Linked DNA regions of Homo sapiens: region 1 is linked to region 2. The links are contacts of gene promoters, found by promoter capture Hi-C in blood cells and fetal thymus (Javierre and others, 2016). All regions are on one chromosome and are shown on one strand. The core of a region is centred on a gene start or on the middle of the fragment in contact, and the rest is flanking DNA. Distances in the headings are between cores, read along the strand shown.

Evidence for each region. The method cuts DNA at HindIII sites, captures the fragments that hold promoters and counts their contacts. A CHiCAGO score of 5 or more calls a contact.
Region 1: a contact is called between a fragment that was not itself captured here and the fragment with the promoter of IL1A in region 2, in 1 of 17 cell types (neutrophils). The highest score is 5.4, in neutrophils.

The regions. Positions count from the first base shown.
Region 1 is chr2:113,101,484-113,105,286 of GRCh38, forward strand. It overlaps a transcript of IL1RN not described here. Among named protein-coding and RNA genes, the nearest start is that of IL1RN, 24 kb to the right of the region's middle. The HindIII fragment of the contact is 5,174 bases long and covers 1-3,803 here.
Region 2 is chr2:112,782,674-112,786,417 of GRCh38, forward strand. IL1A (interleukin 1 alpha) reads right to left here and starts at 1,820. Exons shown (of 7, transcript NM_000575.5): 1 at 1,770-1,820; 2 at 1,051-1,105; 3 at 43-91. The coding sequence starts at 1,097. The HindIII fragment of the contact is 4,198 bases long and covers 1-3,253 here.

The sequences.
Region 1 (3,803 bases), core at 1,007-3,506, 320 kb after region 2:
AGCCACTATTTCATAAAAGAAAGGCCATTTTTACATTTCCTCTCCACTCAGTGAGCATGATCTCAGAAGAAAGGACTGCCTTTCTCAAGAATGAAGAGTTAACAATAGCATCCCAACATATTTAAATATCAAGCCCTGGGCTCTCGATTTTCTAATTTAATTTAGCTCATCATTAAAACTGGCACTGGTCTAAGGACCAACATGTAGAAACCACCGCTCTGAAAGATCTGGCAGTAGCATAGAAGGCAGATTGGAGCTGGGGAAGAGAGACTTTTTTATTCTTTTTTTATTTTTATTTTTTGAGATGGAGTTTCTCTCTTGTTACCCAGGCTGGAGTGCAATGGCGTGATCTTGGCTCACTGCAACCTCCACCTCCCCAGTTCAAGTGATTCTCCTGCCTCAGCCTCCCAAGTAGCTGGGATTACAGGTGTGCGTTATCACACCCGGCTAATTTTGTATTTTTAGTAGAGACAGGGTTTCTCCATGTTGGTCAGGCTGGTCTCGAACTCCCGAACTCAGGTGATCTGCCCACCTCGGTCTCCCAAAGTGCTGGGATTACAGGTGTGAGCCACCGTGCCCCGCCCGAGACTTTTTTTCTTAAGGAGATTGTCTTAGTCACCTCAGACTGCCATAACAAAATACCACAGGCTGGGTGGCTTAACCAACAGGAAGAATGTATTTGCTCCCAGTTCTGGAGGCTGTGATCAAGTCTCAGATCATCCACTTGCTGGCTGGCAGACAGCTACCTTCTCACTGTGGCCTTTCCTTGGTGTCTGTGCAGGCACGGGGACAGTGAGAGCTCTCTGGTGTCTCTACCTCTTCTTATAAGGACACCAATTCTATTGTGTTAGGGCCCCACCCTTATTTAACCTCAATTACTTTCTTATAGGCTCTATCTTCAAATACAGCCACACTGGGAGTTAGGACTTTGATATGTGGATTGTGGAGGGATTCAGTTCACACAGAGCTATTGCAATGGTTTGGACAAGCAGCTCTAATTGGGGAAGGGGGAAGCCTGTAGGCATGGGAAGGAGAGGTCAGGCGTGTCACGTGCGTCTGTGTGAAAAGACCACCAAACAGGCTTTGTGTGAGCAACAAGGCTGTTTATTTCACCTGGGTGCAGGTGGGCTGAGTCTGAAAGAGAGTCAGCGAAGGGAGATGGGGTGGGGAGGTTTTATAGGATTTGGGTAGGTAGTGGAAAATTACAGTCAAAGGGGGTTTCTCTCTTTGGGCAGGCGTGGGGGTCACAAGGTGCTCAGTGGGGGAGGTTCTGAGCCAGGAAAAGGAATTTCACAAGGTTAATCGCTCAGTTAAGGTGGGGCAGGAATAAATCACAATGGTGGAATGTCATCAGTTAAGGCAGGAACTGGCCATTTTCACTTCTTTTGTGATTCTTCACTTGCTTCAGGCCATCTGGATGTATATGTGCAGGTCACAGGGCATACATTGGCTTAGCTTGGGCTCAGAGGCCTGACAAGGCACAGAAGGAGCTGGGATAGAGGTGCAAAGTACTCATGCTGACCTGACATCCCATGCCCACGGCAGACATGACTACTTGATCGGACAATACTTTCTTGGAATCAAAGACACAACTTCACAGTCCTCAGCATCATAGTTCAGGCAGCCTGTATCAGTAGATCAGAGTGGGCACATGGCCTGGTGCTATCACTCCATCCTGTGAGGGGAGATGGGATTGGAATGGAGGTGGAGGAGTCACAGGTGGTCCTGATATCACAGGCCTGGGAGTCTGAAAGAAGTGCAGTAGGTAGTATTATGGCCCTCAAAGACATCTGTGTCCTACTGTCTAGAGTCAATTAAAGTGTTACCTAACATAGAAAAAAGGATTTTGCAGGTGGGATTAAACTAAGGATCTCAAGATAGAAAGACTCTCCTGGAGTATCCAGTTGTGTCCAATGTAAGAACAAGCGTTCTCAAAATAGGGACACAGGAGATTGAATTGCAAAGGAGATGTGCTGATAAACGGAGAGGTTGGAGTGATGCCGCCATGAGGCAAGGAATGTGGGTGGCCTCTAGCAGCTAGCAATGATTCGGAAATGGATTCTCCCCCAGAGTCCAGAAAGATCACAGCAGTGCTGACACCTTGATTTGAGCCCAGTGTCACCTCTGTCAGACTTCTGCCCTATAGAACTGTAAGAGGATAAATTTGTGTTTTAAGGCACAAAGTTTATGGTAATTTGTTATAGCAGCAATGGGAAACTAATACAAGAAGGGTTGTGTTATCAACAGAAATACAGCAATCAGAAGAAAGATGGTTGGGGAGAGCAGAGGGTGGGGTGGGAAGGTGATGGATTCTGTTTGGGACATTCTGGGTGTCATATGAATATTATTGGGGAACTGTCCATCAAAAGCTCAGACTTCAAAGAAAGAAAGGAAGGAGCAACAATATTTTGAAAGGGAGAAAGTAGGTAATATTCAATATGTGTTGAGTACCTACAAGGTTTTTAGTTCTTTCACCAAGTTATTTTATTTAATTTTTATGGCATCAAGGGGTGTTTTTTTTTTTTCTTAAACCAAATTTTCTCAGTTAAGCATCCCATGTAAGTGGCCAGGGGTTAAGAGATGTGACTAAGACTAGACAGAGTGATTTTCATCATTACATGGTACTATGGTTCTACTGAAGCACTGAGGAAGGAAGTCAAGAGAGTTCCTGAGAAATGTCTGGAGTCTTAGTAACATGCAAAGTGAGGCAGAGGTATTGTCAGTGTTAGCTGGTCACTTTGAAAGGTTAGAGGTAAATAAAGTTCAGGGCAATGGTACTTGGAGAGGAGTGAATCTTTGGTAACCTGGAGGAGATGCTTCTCAGAGGAAAATTTCTTCACAGCATGAAGTCACCAGCTCTAAGACTAGTGGGTGTTCTGGGGGATGTTAGCAGTGACTCACTGACTGTTGGCCCAGTGAGGGGAGGGATGAAAGGCTGGGTAGTGGGTAGAGAATCTGACTCCTCCTGCCCCCACATGTCTATTCCTGGGCCTTCTCATGGTGGGGGCAAAAGGTATGCAAAGGGATTTCCGCAGTGTCTGAGTGCTCCCAGGAGACGGAAAAGTAACTGATGACTTGGAGTTGGAGTCTTGTTGGCTCAGGCAGCTGGGGCGTTTTGGGATTTCAACACCTCCCTTTAGTTTCTATGTATGGTGCTGAGCAAGTAGTCAAAGACTTTGGTCTTGCTTTACCCCAGTAGCCCACAAGCCTGAGTACATGGCTAACATTTATTGGGCACTTAGTGTGTGCCAAAGAGCTTTATGAGACAGGTTCTTTTTGAGTCCCATTATACTGATAATGGGACTGATAAGAAACAGAAGGTCAGAAAGGCCCAGTAACTTGGGCAAGGTCATGTAGCTAGTAAGTGGTCCAGCTGAAATTTAAAACCAGGTTTATCCAACTCCAAATCCCACATCTGATTTATTTTGCCATGAATTAAAACATAGTTCTGATTTTGAGAAACTCCCAGTCCCAGTGGGAAAACAGATGGAATCACAAATTACCATAACACAGTGTAGTGATGTAGATATAAAAACAAAGACATGGGAACCCTGAAAGGAAGTTGTAACACCAATAGAGGAATGCACGGAGGAGATCTTTCAGAGGAGGTAGCCTCGTAGCTGGGCTCAGGGGTGGATGAGTTTCTGGCTAGAAGCGCATTGTGGGTAGAGGGAGAACATATATAGAAAGGCATGAAGATGGTGGACATGTTTGGAAAGAGTGAGTACTAGACTGATGAACACGATGAGTCAGGAGCTTATGACGTCAGGGGCTACTGCTAGCCTAGCTAATGACTGAAGATT
Region 2 (3,744 bases), core at 570-3,069:
GTAAGAATAGCAGTCCCATGAGAATTACAGTCATTTGCTTACCTGATTCAGAGACAGATGATCAATGGAGGAACTGTCTTCTTCATTTTCACTGTCAAAATAAGATGATGAGAATGTAATTGTTGTTATTTCAGTGTGGTCTCTGGCCAATGTACTTTAATGACCATGATAGTTGTGGGTCACACACATACACATGGCCATTACTGTCATCTTTGAAATTTAAGGACTTCTACACATACACATAGGTAGAGTAATTCATATCTTACTAATCTGGAATTAGTAGTCATCAAGACAGGCTTTGAGCTTTACCTGTGCTTTATCTGTAAAAATTGGACTTGGCTAACAAATTGAAGAGCTTTAATTGAAGTTCAGGGAAGAATGTTAAGCTCCTTTAGAGAAAAGAAAGGTTTTGAAGCACTTCCTTTTTATTTTAACCAAATAGATTATATGTTACACATTACTTTCATGTATTCACTAAAACAGATTTCATAATTTATACTTAGTAAAATATCCAGGCAAAATTTTGACAGCCTAGTTTGTGTTAGTATTTACTACAGATAATGGAAACATCATGTTAGTTTAATATGTTCCGTAATTTTATCTTTGTGTTCATTTACCTTTCTTCTACATCTGAGTGAGATTTGCCTGCATATGTGAGTTCACATGCCCAGCTTGCTGTGGAGCCATTTCCTGTTCCTGAATGAGATCAAGTTTTCCTGAGAATGGACCAGTAAAACCCATTCTTATATCAGGGCATGTGATCTCAACAGAGGCTGTGTCTAAGTTGATGCTGATATTCATGTAGGGCTCAGCAGACCTCAAAAATAATTTTTCTAAAATGGCGGTCTCCCTGCCAATGTAATCTCAGTTTAACATGCTGAATGCTTAGTTTTTCTGGGTCTTCTCTGAACCTGCTCTGACTTCAGGACTAGTACACATCTCTACAACCTCTGCCGGCCTGCCCCCATGCTGGCCACTGTTATGCCTAGCTGGATTCTGGTGAGCCTTGAAACCCTCATTAAATCACAAGAGATAAATCTTATTCCTTACCTGTAACAGTTCTTCAGGTCTTCAAACATGTCTGGAACTTTGGCCATCTTGACTTCTGCAACAGAGAACACCAGCCACCATCAGCTCAGCCAGCCTCTAATCCAGATATCTGTGAGGGGAGCCCCTCCTCTTTGTGCTTCCTGAAAACTTTGTTGAATGACTTAGTCCACATTCAGCATTTTCTCCATCTTCTAGCTCCTTTGAATTAGTTTGCTATGTACCTGTCTCCTTTATTAGATCGTAAACTTCTTTTAGAATGTTTTATTTATGTTGGTATTCCTTATGTGCCCAACCTAATGTATTGCCAGAACAGGCATTCAATCAATGAAAGTTTGAAGAGGTTACAAAAACACCACAAGAATAAGGTATTTGCCTTACACAGAGGTAAGAGAGAGACAGAGTTGGAAATTTTCAATTTTCTCCTAATAATTTTGGATAGTAGAGATTCCCTCCCATGAGAAGCCTCAGTTGTATTCACCCATGCCCTCATAGGAAACTAGTTCTGCTGTCCCTCAGTATAACGAATCAGTCCTTATCAGCAAAATGAGAGAATCATTTTCTGAAATCTGACTGTAATTCTAGGTCACATACCAAACCAGGGAGGGACAAGAAAAGAAAGGAGAGGCTGTAGCTTTAGAGAAGGCAATGTGAGAGAAAACAGCCAAAGAGAAAAACAACAACAGAAAATACTTTAATAGCCAGAGATGTGAGGACAATACCTTTGCTGACTCAAACGCCAATGAAATGACTCCCTCTCTGGCTGGCAGCTTAAGCCTGAGTCAGTCTTCTTCGCCTTTTGTAATTGTCTTAAGTAGGCGTGGCTACGTGGCTACAAGTGCGTCGTCAAAACGGGGAATTTACAGGGAAGAATTCAGTTTTGTATTTTTCTATGTTCATTCAACTCGATACTGGCTAAAATAGTGAAAGATGGCATAGCTGATATTATTGTTGTTTGCAGATATTCCAGAAGTTATTGATTTGGTTCATTTATTCACCCCTTTGCTTTATAAGATGACAAACATGTAGTCTTAGAAAAAGGGAAGCGCGGGAAACTTATCAAGTTTCTAGGAGGAAGGGAGAAATCGTGAAATCCGAAGTCAAGGGGCTAGATTTGGAGAGGAATTTATTAATAATAATAGTTCTAATAGTAGCTGTAGTTGTGTTCTGGCTGAATTTGTTGATTGTGCTCCAGGGTGAATTGGCAGAATACTTGGCAGCTCCTGGCAACTTTTGAGGGAAAATGAGCCATCTTTTCTGAAGAGGGAAGTTTGCTTGATTAAGGCATAAATCACCTCAGAGTTTGGGGTGACAAGCTCCTGGTTAGGGCAGGGTAGAGAAGAGAACAGTGGTATTTGAGCACAAAGAAGTCTTGATCCTCTTACTCTTCTGAATATTGTCAACACATTTCCTATAGAGGGGATGGAGCTTCAGGAGAGAACTCTCCACCCTGGCCCTGTTACAGTAAAGTAGCCCTCTACCAAGGACCAGAGAGAAGCCTGGTCTTCTGTAGGATATGCCCAAGGTGTGTCTTCTGTAGAAGAAGGTGTGTGCAAGCCCCGGGAGGTATGCGTAAGGCCTCAGCCAGAAGCCAGTGGCTAAGTTTGGGAATGGAGATTGGGAGAAAGGAAGGCATGGATTTTTACATATGAGCCTTCAATGGTGTTGCCTGGTTACTATTATTAAAGAATTTCTCAGCTTTTATAATTCCTGTGGCCAGCCTAGTTCAGGTGGTAGAACACCAGACTCTTAGCAAATGAATGTTTTGGGTTCCCAGTTGGAGTTTAAGCCATGTATATTTTAAATAGAGGAAATGAACTAGGTGTGATGGCATGCCCCTGTAGTCCCAGCTATTCAGGAGGCTGAGGCAGGACAATCACTTGAGGCCCAGAGTTTTAGTCCAGTGTGGGCAACATAGTGAAGCCCCCATCTCTAAAAAATAATAAACGCAAAAAAGCATGGATCTGGGAGGAAAGCAGCTTGTGTGAGTTGGATAAAGTATTCCCTCTGTTCCTGTTTAATTGTAAATAATGGGGTTGGTTAGGTGTCATAAGGTCTATTGCAGGTGCAAAATCTCTTATTCTGATTTAATGCCAGTCTAATTCTCCTGGTCATAGACCTGGTGCTATAATAGTTATAACAGGAGCCACAGAAATAACCACACTTGGATGTAAGCAATGTAAGTGTAGCACCAGACTAGGGTAGAAGCTTGGGTGTCTAAGGATGAATCCTGAAGCAACAGTGATGCCAGCCAACTGGCTACATTTCTGCTTACCTTGGTTCCTCTTTAGGCAACACAGAAATGTTAATCCTGATTAACCCTCTCCTCCTGAGAATCTTGTGAGGGCTATTGCTAAGGAACAATTGCAAAGCACATTGTGAATGTGAGCTGCTATGGAGATGCAACTAAACAAAAATAATGACAATGCTAATGATGGCTTCAGTCACTCAAGAACCTGTATAGTCATCATTATAATGCCTCAGTTCACCAAAGAAAATATAGTTCTTATGAAAATACTGGCTTGAAAGCTTCAACAGGGATAACATTTTCAGGTGAAGGCCACCATTGAAAGCCTGAAGATATTTAGCTTCTGGGAGCAATGCATACCATCTCTTTGGTAATCCAGGAAAAAAACCCTGGTTCCACCAACATAGGCAATACCTATCCTGGTCCCATCCTCACTCCTCTGTTGTAAA